Regions from separate parts of the Homo sapiens genome. Here region 1 is linked to region 2. Evidence: promoter capture Hi-C in 16 types of primary human blood cells and fetal thymus (Javierre and others, 2016). All regions are on one chromosome and are shown on one strand. Each heading gives the region's core, a stretch centred on a gene start or on the middle of the fragment in contact. The rest is flanking DNA. Distances are from core to core; before and after follow the strand shown.

Region 1 (6,123 bases), core at 1,240-3,739, 290 kb after region 2:
CCTGTGTACCTTCCATTATCATCGTTCTGCCCTAAGAATGAGCATATCGCTAAGGTTTAAATCGAATTTCTGATGAATAGGTGGAGATGCTGTTTCTGTAGTTAATACAATGCGACTACATCAACATCATTCCCCAAAAAATAAAATAAAAATGACTCAATATGCTTTATTTATTCACATCTGACAGAATTCTGATCACCTGAATTCCTTTGGAAGAAAATTCAATCTTTAGAAATACAGTCCAATTATTCTAAATCTTATCAATGTCAAAAGACAATCATATGAAAAACTCCATCAGTACCAAACCATCTCACCAATGAATATTTATGACATTTCCATATTTCCTGTCTTCTCTGTTTACATAAAGCGGTGGTGCCAAGACTCATCTCAGGATTATTAGCCTGCAATACAATGATGGGCCTAATTGCCTTGCAAACCAGGACACTAACAAATGGCGTCTTCAAGCAATCAATTTAAAGAGGGGGTAAAAAAGGCCCAAGCTCTTTTTGCCTATGTGCTTGTTACCTACCTACAAAATAAATTCAGTCTCATATTTTTCAGGCTCACTCATTAGTTCTCAAGCAAGGAATGCACCCTTAACAATCTCAAGCTCATCAAATCTATTTAAATTTCAAAATGCCTGGCTAGTTTTTAAATACACCAGGAGGAGAGGGGAAAAGAAAAGGCAGAGACATCATATAGAAAGATATCCATTACATTCCAGTTTATCTTCTCCCACCTTTAGTTTGGAAGTATGCTTTTTTCCCCCAACTTACTTTTTATGATATACAAATAACAGAAGACACCCTCCCCTCCTTAATTCTACCTTAACTAAATCCCCTTTCAACTTTACCCTTTGGGCTGACTTGACTTCCAAATTTTACTAATATAAATAAAACAAACAAAAACATCACCCGAACAGATTAAAATGGCCCCTAAGAATGAGAAGGTCTCTTCCGTGTCCCCTGCAAAGTCCCCTCTAACAGCCTTACTGCCTCTCACCCAACCACAGCCACCAAGGCTGTTCATTTAAGTATTCCAACCCTTAACCCTCATGTGTCTCTTGGAGGCCACCCCAATCCTTCACCACCAAAATAATCCAACCCAATTCCCCCCTGCTCTCCAGCACAGCTCACTGTCCCTCTCCATCCTCTCTGCCCCATCCATACCAACAGCTCCAGGTCTCCCATTCCTTAAATTTCCCCTGTGCCACCTCACCATCAGCAACCACCTCCCCAGGCCTACCAGCTCATCTCCGAAAGTCCTTCTCCAAAACTCCCTCTGCCACCTTGGCCAAGGGATATTTTCTTCAAGATACCATCCCCCAACTTTGCTCACCCCTGCCGCTATCCTTTCAATGAAAGCAGCCCAGTGATGTTTTATGTGCCCTCTGCCTTGACTCTGCAACCAAGGAGCCACCATGCCCTTTCCAGTGATTGTAAGATCACCCTAAATCCAACCCACTGTGCCCCACACTCCATTTCCATCCCTGTCCTCCCATTTCGGGCCTGACTTCCAATGTGGCCCCTTCCTGCCAGCTCACCATCACACTCCCCTCACTGAATGTCCCACCTCCACCAACTCCTATTCCAACCTCCATCAGCCCACCCCAGGAAACCCCCAAATTGCACTCTTCTGCTCTATCCTAACCCATGCTATTCCATAAGTCTCCACAAATTCCACCAGCCCCAGATGACAAACACCCACTTCAAGCTTGGGTCTCAACCCATGCCAAGCCCCTCACCCCCAACTCCTGCCACCTCCATCATCCTGCCCCAGGTCCACCCCAAATTCCACCCTTCTGAATTAACACTACGCAGGGCCCTAACCAACCCTGTACATGCCACTCACTCTCCGTTGAAATCATTCCCCTGCCCCTCACCCCAGCTCAGATCCCAAGCTGTCAACTGCTCCAGGCCAAACCCAAATCACCACCCTCATTCAGTCCCCTCCCCCATTAAAAGCCATCCCACCCTAGTCTCATCTTCCACCTCGCCCCAAGACCATCCCGAATTCCAACCCGACGCCCCCACCCCACTCTCCTGTCCCAGGTTGGGTTATTCTCCATCAAAAGTCCTCCTCCCTTGTCGCCCGCCCCCCAACCTGCTTGGGTCCCACCCTCACCCCACCCCCGGCCAGCGCCTGGACAAGTCTCCCCCGCCAGCCCGCCGTTCCATCGCGACCTCAACCCCCTCCCCCCAACCTGCACGGGGGCTCCGCAGCCTCCCCTCTCATTCTCGCCAGCGCCACCGGCCCAGACTCAGGACCAGCGGACCCTGTGGCGGGGGGAGTCTCCTCACCGGTGAGCAGCTGCAGGCGAAAACGGCGGCGGCGGCGGCTGAGGCGGCGATGCCCTTGTCTTCTCCGGAGGCTACGGCGGCGACGCTCTCGCCCGTGTCCAGTAGGGTGGCGGATGGCGCGCGGGGACCGGAGCCTCCTCCTCAGCGACTCGGCTCTGAATCCTCTGCAGTAGCCGCCGAGGAGCCCGACGGGTGGGGGGAGGGGACGCTCGGCTGCGGGCGAGGGAGGAGGAGGCGGAGGGAGGAGGCGGGGGACCGCTCAGAAGGGCAGGGAAGGAGGAGCCGGCGCGGCGCCGCGACACGTCCCACAGCCTCAGAGCGCCGGGACCACAACTCCCGGCATGCCCTGCTTTAGCCCGCGCGCGGCCTGCGCCTCCCGCCGCGAGCCCGGTGCAGAGGGGCCGCGCCCTCTCCGGTCACGGACAGTGGAATAAAGCCAACCATCCGCTGGCGAATTTTGTAGACTCAAAGACCACCTGTGAGGAAAGTCAGGTCGCCCGAGGCCCCATCCCCAAGGGGCCGTACTCGCAGCGTCTCCATCCTCTTTGCATAGACACCCCCCTCCCCCCGCCCACACACACACACACACTCTCTGTCTCTCCCTCTCTCCCTCTCTCCCTCTCTCCCTCTCCCTCTCGTCTCTGTCTCTGGACTACACCTCCCAGCATGCCCCTCAGCTTCCTATTCTCCTTCCGGACCCTTCTCAGACCCGGTACTACAGTTCCCAGGGAGTGTGGTCCCTGCGAAATGCTGGGAGATGGAGTTCTCGGTTCTTCCTCCATGTTAAGAAAAAGAAGTGAAAGAGAGGCAAAAGGGAAGGAATACGCCAGCCCACCGAGGATGGGCCTTGATGGGCTAGATCACCTGTGATTCTGTTCATCCCTCGCCATCTCCGTTTCAGCTGTCTCTCACCAGAACTAATGCCGGAGCTTCCTCGCTGGTCTCCCTGCAAATTTGAGGACGATTCGGCAACTTGAATCCAAACGACAAAGGGCATATCCTCTTCTTGACCCAGCTCCATTACTTTTAAGAATTTACCTTAAAAAGATGATCGAACAATTTCGAAAAGATGAATGCACAAAGTTGTTATATGACGTAGTTAATTATGAAGGGAGTAAATGTTCATCGATAGGGTGCTGCTTAAATAAGACGTGACATATACATACAATGCAATACTAAGGAGCCATTTAAAATGATATAAATCTATTGACATGAAAAGCTATTCACAATTTATTCTTCGGGGAAAAAGTTGATTACACAACAGCATGTCTACACGAGTGCATTTATGTGAGGTTTGACACAATATTCTACAAGCATGGAGAGATTTCAGGAAAGAGGTTCGCCAAAATATTAGCAATGATTATCTTGGGGGAAAGGGTGTCAGATTGCACGTAGGTTTTTTTTGTTTTTTGAGACGGAGTCTGGATCTATAGCCAGGCTGGAGTAAAGTGGGGGCGATCGCAGGTCACTGCAACCTCTGCCTCCCGGGTTCAAGCGATTCTCCTGCCTCAGCCTCCTGAGTAGCTGGGACTACAGGCGCGCGCCACCACATCCAGCTAATTTTTGTATTTTTAGTAGAGATGGGGTTTCACTATATTGGCCAGGATGGTCTCGATTTCTTGACCTCCTGACCTGCCCGCCTCAGCCTCCCAAAGTGCTGGGATTACAGGCATGAGCCACAATGCCCGACTGTAATTTTTGTTTTCATATTGTTTGAATTGTTTAAAAGGAGCACATAACGACTGTTTTTTGTTTTCTTTTTTGTTTTGTTTTAATTGTAAGAGACGTCGTCTCACTATATTGCCCAGGCTGGTTTCAAACTCCTGGCCTCAAGAGACCCTCCTGCCTCAGCTCTCAAAAGTGCTGGGATTACAGGTGTGAGCCACACTACACCTGGACAATTTTTTAAGCTGTGCTACTTCCAAAAAACATAATTTCCAAATCTAACAACCTTTCTTTGCTGCCTAGATGCTTTCCATGGCTTCCCATTGTCTCATTCATGCTTCAGCACTGTGCCTGCCTGGTTTTAATAGTTCCACTATTAAAACAAATAATAGTAGTCACTTCCAATTCATAAAGTTGGAAGGGAGAATTTTCTCAATTTTCAATGCGTCTTCTCAAAATTTTTCCATTTCTGGTCTTTCCACACCCATTTTCTCCTTTTCTCTTACTCATTCTTCAAACTCAAGCCAAAGTCCTACCTTCCCTAGAACATATTTTAGACACACTGGTTTTCCTTATATCTGAATTCTTTTTTGTTTGTTTGTTTGTTTGTTTGTTTGTTTGAGACAGAGTCTTGCTCTGTCAGCCAGGCTGGAGTACAGTGGTGCAATCTCGGCTCACTGCAACCTCCGTCTCCCGGGCTCAAGCAATTCTCCTGCCTCATCCTTCCGAGTAGCTGGGATTACAGGCATGTGCCACCATGCCTGGCTAATTTTTTTTTGTATTTTTAGTAGAGATGGGGTTTCACCATGTTGGCCAGGCTGGTCTTGAACTCCTGACCTCAGGTAATCCGCCTGCCTCGGCCTCCCAAAGTGCTGGGATTACAGGCGTGAGCCACCGCTCCCGGCTTATCTGAATTCTTATAGCAGTGGTTTCTAATCTGTTGGCCAGAGATCACGGTGGGGAGAGGAAGTGAAGAGAGAGGTACAGAGTTATTGTAAAGGGCCTATGCAGCTCTGCCTACACAAAGCTATATGTCTTGCACTTTAAAAAAGTTTTTCTCTTCTTCTGACCCTTGTGTCCAGCTCTTCTAGAATACAGAATGTAGTATCAGATTATTTTTGATTTCACGATTTTTTTCATTTAAGCCCTGTTTGACTTGATATTTTCTTCTCTTTTTTCATTTTTTGAGACAGAGTCTCGCTCTGTCGCCCAGGCTGGAGTTCAGTGGCATGATCACAGCTCACTGCCGCAGCGACTCCCTGGGCTCATGTGATCCTCCCACCTCAGCCTCCCAAGTAGCGGGGACTACAGGCACCACCATGCCCGGCTAATTTTTCTTTTTTCTTTTTTTTTCTTATAGAGACAGGGTTTCGCCATGTTGCCCAAGGTGGTCTCAAAGTCCTGGACTCAAGTGATCTGCCCACCTCGGCCTCCCAAAGTACTGAGATTACAGGCATGAGCCACTGCGCCCAGCAGAATTTGATATTTTCAATTTTATATGCCATTGTTCCTTGGTGTTCTGTAAGAACAACTAGGACACTTTAGCTCTGCTACAGGCCTACAGGAAAAAGCCCAGGTTGCTTAGCTCAGAGGATGACTTAGTCCCCATCCCGCTGCAGCGTCTCTAGCTTCACCCCACCTCACTCTAGTTAGACTCCTGTCCCTCAGGACTCACTTTCCCCAAATACATCAGGCACTCTCTTTTTCAAACTGCCCATCTCCCTTTACATCCTATTCTCCCAGCCTTAAAATCTCAGCCCCTCTTCTCCCTTTTCTGAGAATAATGAGAAAGATACCTATCATATGTTGGTGATATGTGACAAACAAGTCTCTTCCTCTTAGTGTTACACTGACCTTGCCCTCTTCTAAACCCCATCTTCTCCTCTTCCATTTCCCCACTTCTTTCTCCTAGTGGCACAAAGTAGGGGCTAGGCGGTCTACCTAGTAGGGGCTAGCTTGGTCTATCCAGCAAGTAAAGCATTGTCTGAGTTAGGAGAATAAATAGGTATGAGAAGCTTACTGGACTAGTAATCTGAGAATCAGATCCTAAATTAGAACTTGCCATAAACATGATGGGTGACATTTAGTAAGTCCCTTAACTTTTCGAAATCTCAGTTACTATAATACATCCGCAAAATGGAAGGAATGAGTCCCGCCT
Region 2 (5,569 bases), core at 774-3,273:
TGAGGGACTCCCTGGATGCTGGTCTCAACACAGAGAGGAAGCACTTTCTTGCTACAGAGATATTCCACAACTCAAGAGGCTGCCCAGAGAGTGGAGAGTGACCTCCTCATCCTGTGGGGTATATGAGTAGCAAGCAGGTTCTGGAGTCCCGGCTGAGTCCTCTCTCTCTCATTCGGTAGTCAGGCAATCCCTGGGTGTCTACCATCCTTTCCTATCCTCCTGCCTGCCCCTCTCCTCTGAACCCCGTCTCCTAGCCTAGTCTGGCCCAGCTACATCTCCTTGGCTGGACCTGGTGGCAGTGGGGTTGGCTGGGTAATGCACAGACTGCTGACCTAACTATGTGTCCCCGAGGCCTTGCTACTGGGGGTTGGAGGGGCCAGGGCAGTTTGACCAGGCCTGAAGAAGGCTGGGCAGCGCTGGAGGGGCATGGGTCAGACCAGGTTATCCTCTGTTCCTGAGGAGAGTGAGCTCAGGCCCAAGGAGGAGAAGGAGGAGACTGGGGGCTCAAAGGAACGAGAACCTCCTTCTTCATCAGGATTTGGGGGTGCATCTCAGAGCTGGCTGGAGGAGCATGGTGTTTGAAGCCCCTGAAATCTGAATTTTAGCAGGAGCTGCTATTTCCTGACTTGCATAGTGGTCAAAGTTACTTCTCCTTCACGGTCCACAGAGAAGGGGTAATAATATTTGTCCCCAAGGGTGGTTTGTGGATTTTAAAAAATAAGTTAAATAATATTGCCCATACATTATAGGTACTCCATACATTTTCATTCGTTCGTTCATTCGTTAGTTGGGCCGGGAGGATGAATGGGATCTAGAGGCAGGTGGGAATGCGGAAGGGGATGATGCCCCAATACCGAGAACAATGTGAGACTCAGACGGAGGCAGGGGCGGGAGGGGAGCTCAAGCGAGGGATCAGCGTGAAGCCAGAGAAACAACCGACACTTTTCCTGCCAAGAAGGTGAAGCAGCTGCGGGTAAGAGTATAGGTTTGGCAGTGGGAAGTCGAGGGCGTTCCCGTCGAAGCTCCTTTTGTGTATAAGGCCTAAGAAGGGGCAGTGCGCTTTGCGAAGGTCTGAAAAAGACTAAGGGGATTAGGTAACGACTGAAAGGAAGTTTTCACAACTCTCCGTTTTTGGGGGATGGGTGCTGCTTTATCCGTCCAGGACTCCGTGCGTTGGGAAAATCACGCCGCGAGGGGGCGCAAGAGCCGCGTACTCCAGAGCAAGAAGAAAAGGCTCGGGGATCCAGGCGGAGAGTCCAGGAGAAGAGCCGCCAGACTGCAGGGGCAGGTGGAAGGCGTGGCAGCTGGAAAAGTAGGGGTGGGGGCGCGGTCGTGAAGGGTGGGACTTCTGGAGCAACGCTGGGCGGGTTGGGGGCCGGTCGGAGCCGGACAGGCGGCTGGGAGGTGGGATGGGCGGGGCGCTTGGGAGCGAGATGGGGGGACAAGGGCGTGGCTACAGCTAAATTCGCCGCAGAGGGCGGGCGGGGAGGGGGAGGGAAGGGGAGGAGGCGTGGCCTGGGCGGGGAGTAGGGCGCGACGGACCCTTCAGTTAGCCCGCGGCTCCCCGGGCTCTCCCTGGCGCCGAGTCCCACCCCTTTCCCGGCCCAGAGAGTGTGCGTCTGCGTGCACCTGAGTGTCAGTGTGTACGAGAGTTTGTGAGTCCGAGGTTGCCATGTTGGAGCCCCTGGGCAGGAGGTGTTTCCGCGCGGAGGCTGGTGGCCCGCGGTGGACGCGGCGCCCTGGCTGCGAGTCTGCGGAGCTGAGCACGCTCAGCGGTTGTGTGTGTCTCAGCGACTCCCTGGGGGCAGCTCGGCCTGCTGGGCTCCCGAGGGACCTCTCTGGAGGGCCAGAGGGTCGCCTCAGTCTGCAAGTCCTCCAGCAGGCTTTTTCTTCTTCGGCTCCTCCCTGATTCCCTCCCACCACGCGGTTCCCAGGCTCGCGCACGCCCGGAGCCCACCCCCTCTTTTGGGCGCGAGGCCCCGCCCCCCGCCCCCTTGCCTCTGCCGCAAAGTTTATTTGCAACAAAAGGGTGCCAGGAGCGAGCAGCCAAGGGCGTTGGGCAGGCGGACGCAGAGTCGAGGAACCAAGCGCTGGGATCCCGCCCAGGCGGTGCCGCGGTGCCCCTGGTCGCTCCAGCCGCGGCGGGGGCTGGGCCTGGGGGTCGGCGCTGAGGCGGGAGGGGCCGCCCGGGATGGAGACGTTGCGGCCGGTGGCCACAGAAACTTGAGCCGCGGCAGAGAAACCTCTGCTCCGGTCTCTGCGTCCTCTTCCCACACTCCCGTGCGCTGCTTTCGGCGTGGGCCGCTGCGCTCCTAGGGAGTGGGGGCGCAGGGGGGGTTGGCCGCGGCTGCCCGAGGCCAGCCCCCCCGGAGTGAGTTACGCCACTATGGCGGACGGGGCACCCCGGCCCCAGCTTTACCGCAGCGTCTCGTTCAAGCTGCTGGAGCGCTGGAGCGGCGGCCCCGGGCTGAGGGAGGAGGACACGGACACCCCCGGCTTGAGGCGACGCGCCTCGTGCCGGCCGACCACGGCTGCCCGGGGCCAGCCCTCTCGGCGCGTGTCCAAGCTGGCGTCTGGGCCCCTGGCCGCCCCCGCGCAGCCGCGCCCGCTCCGCAGCCTCTCGCCGTCGGTTCGCCAGCTCTCCCGGCGCTTCGACGCGCCGCGTCTGGACGACGGCTCCGCTGGGACCCGAGACGGAGGCGTCTTACCCGCGGCCGCGGAAGAAGCGGCCGAGGGCCCAGCGCGAGGAGCCTGGCCCAGCGTCACCGAGATGCGCAAGCTCTTCGGCGGTCCTGGCTCCAGGAGGCCCAGCGCCGACTCTGAATCCCCAGGAACGCCCAGCCCCGACGGTGCCGCGTGGGAGCCTCCGGCTCGGGAGTCGCGGCAGCCACCGACGCCACCCCCTCGGACATGCTTCCCCCTGGCGGGTCTGCGTTCGGCGCGGCCCCTGACCGGGCCGGAGACCGAAGGGAGGCTGCGCCGGCCGCAGCAGCAACAGGAGCGGGCGCAGCGTCCAGCGGATGGTTTACATTCTTGGCATATCTTCTCCCAACCGCAGGCCGGGGCCCGGGCCTCCTGCTCCTCCTCCTCCATCGCCGCCTCCTATCCTGTCAGCCGCAGTCGTGCTGCCAGCTCCAGCGAGGAGGAAGAGGAGGGCCCGCCGCAGCTGCCTGGAGCCCAGAGTCCGGCCTACCACGGCGGCCACTCCTCGGGCAGTGACGACGACCGAGACGGTGAGGGCGGCCACCGCTGGGGAGGGAGGCCCGGGCTCAGGCCTGGAAGCTCCCTATTGGATCAGGACTGCAGGCCTGACAGTGATGGGTTAAATCTAAGCAGCATGAACTCAGCAGGGGTTTCTGGGAGCCCTGAGCCCCCAACATCTCCAAGAGCCCCTAGAGAAGAAGGACTCCGGGAGTGGGGTAGTGGCTCTCCGCCCTGCGTCCCAGGTCCCCAGGAGGGACTTCGGCCTATGTCTGACTCTGTGGGAGGAGCTTTCCGTGTGGCCAAGGTGAGCTTTCCCTCGTACCTGGCCAGCCCCGCAGGCTCCCGCGGTAGCAGCCGTTATTCCAGCACGGAGACCCTCAAGGACGACGACCTATGGTCTAGTAGGGGTTCTGGGGGCTGGGGCGTGTACCGCTCCCCTAGCTTTGGAGCTGGGGAAGGGCTCCTGCGGTCCCAGGCTCGAACCCGTGCCAAAGGACCTGGAGGCACCTCTAGGGCATTGAGGGATGGAGGATTTGAGCCTGAAAAGAGTCGACAGCGGAAGTCCCTGTCAAATCCAGATATCGCCTCAGAGACCCTGACGCTTCTCAGTTTCCTGCGCTCAGACCTTTCAGAGCTGAGGGTCCGAAAACCTGGTGGGAGCTCCGGGGACCGTGGAAGCAACCCCCTAGATGGCAGAGACTCACCATCCGCAGGTGGCCCTGTGGGGCAACTTGAACCCATACCCATCCCAGCCCCAGCATCACCTGGCACGCGCCCCACACTCAAGGACTTGACAGCCACTCTGCGGAGAGCAAAGTCATTCACCTGCTCTGAGAAGCCCATGGCCCGCCGCCTGCCCCGCACCAGTGCTCTGAAGTCCAGCTCCTCCGAGCTCCTGCTCACAGGCCCTGGTGCCGAGGAGGATCCGCTGCCCCTCATCGTCCAGGACCAATATGTGCAGGAGGCCCGCCAGGTTTTTGAGAAGATCCAGCGCATGGGTGCCCAACAAGATGATGGAAGCGATGCCCCCCCTGGAAGCCCTGACTGGGCAGGGGATGTGACCCGAGGGCAGCGGTCCCAGGAGGAGCTCTCAGGCCCTGAGTCCAGTCTGACAGATGAAGGCATTGGGGCAGACCCTGAGCCTCCTGTTGCAGCATTTTGCGGCCTGGGTACCACAGGGATGTGGCGACCTCTTTCCTCATCCTCGGCCCAGACGAACCACCATGGCCCTGGGACTGAGGACAGTCTGGGCGGGTGGGCCCTGGTGTCGCCTGAGACCCCTCCCACACCAGGTGCCCTCCGCCGACGACGCAAAGTCCCACCTTCAGGTTCTGGTGGGAGCGAATTGAGCAATGGGGAGGCAGGGGAGGCCTACAGGTCCCTGAGTGACCCAATTCCTCAGCGCCACCGGGCTGCCACCTCTGAAGAGCCTACTGGGTTCTCTGTGGACAGCAACCTCCTGGGCTCACTGAGCCCCAAGACAGGGCTCCCTGCCACCTCAGCCATGGATGAGGGCTTGACCAGTGGTCACAGTGACTGGTCTGTGGGCAGTGAAGAGAGCAAGGGATATCAGGAGGTTATTCAGAGCATAGTTCAGGGGCCTGGCACCCTGGGGCGTGTGGTGGACGACAGGATTGCTGGCAAAGCCCCCAAGAAGAAATCCCTGAGTGACCCCAGCCGCCGTGGGGAGCTGGCTGGGCCTGGATTCGAGGGCCCTGGAGGGGAGCCCATCCGAGAAGTTGAGCCCATGCTGCCTCCATCCAGCAGCGAGCCCATCCTTGTAGAGCAGCGGGCAGAGCCAGAAGAACCTGGTGCCACCAGGAGCCGGGCACAGTCTGAAAGGGCCCTACCTGAGGCTCTGCCTCCCCCTGCCACTGCCCACCGAAACTTTCACCTTGACCCCAAGCTGGCTGACATTCTGTCCCCGAGGCTAATCCGCCGAGGCTCCAAGAAGCGCCCAGCTCGGAGTAGTCACCAGGAGCTTCGGAGAGACGAGGGCAGTCAGGACCAGACTGGCAGCCTGTCTCGGGCCCGGCCCTCCTCCAGACACGTTCGCCATGCCAGTGTGCCCGCCACATTTATGCCTATTGTGGTGCCTGAGCCACCAACTTCTGTTGGTCCCCCTGTGGCTGTGCCAGAACCCATAGGCTTCCCTACCCGAGCCCATCCCACGTTGCAGGCACCATCGCTCGAGGACGTCACCAAGCAGTACATGCTGAACCTGCACTCCGGTGAGGTCCCTGCCCCAGTGCCAGTGGACATGCCCTGCTTGCCTCTGGCTGCACCGCCCTCTGCTGAGGCCAAGCCCCCTGAGGCAGCTCGGCCTGCAGATGAGCCTACCCCTGCCAGCAAGTGCTGCAGCAAG

Evidence for each region. Contacts are between HindIII fragments. The CHiCAGO score rates a contact against its expected background, and 5 or more counts as called.
Region 1: a contact is called between the fragment with the promoter of FAM168A here and the fragment with the promoter of ARHGEF17 in region 2, in 1 of 17 cell types (neutrophils). The highest score is 5.3, in neutrophils.

The regions. Positions count from the first base shown.
Region 1 is chr11:73,595,623-73,601,745 of GRCh38, forward strand. It overlaps FAM168A (family with sequence similarity 168 member A), which reads right to left and starts at 2,490. Exons shown (of 8, transcript NM_015159.3): 1 at 2,301-2,490. RefSeq lists an enhancer at 1,824-2,552 and silencers at 2,444-2,573, 2,704-2,933. The HindIII fragment of the contact is 4,267 bases long and covers 1,712-5,978 here.
Region 2 is chr11:73,306,253-73,311,821 of GRCh38, forward strand. ARHGEF17 (Rho guanine nucleotide exchange factor 17) reads left to right here and starts at 2,024. Exons shown (of 21, transcript NM_014786.4): 1 at 2,024-5,569. The coding sequence starts at 2,387. ARHGEF17-AS1 (ARHGEF17 antisense RNA 1) reads right to left here and starts at 3,109. Exons shown (of 3, transcript NR_147696.1): 1 at 2,420-3,109; 2 at 1,630-2,312; 3 at 1,259-1,304. RefSeq lists silencers at 1,396-1,535, 1,936-2,265, 2,496-2,715 and enhancers at 2,136-3,013, 3,019-3,839. The HindIII fragment of the contact is 10,810 bases long and covers 1-5,569 here.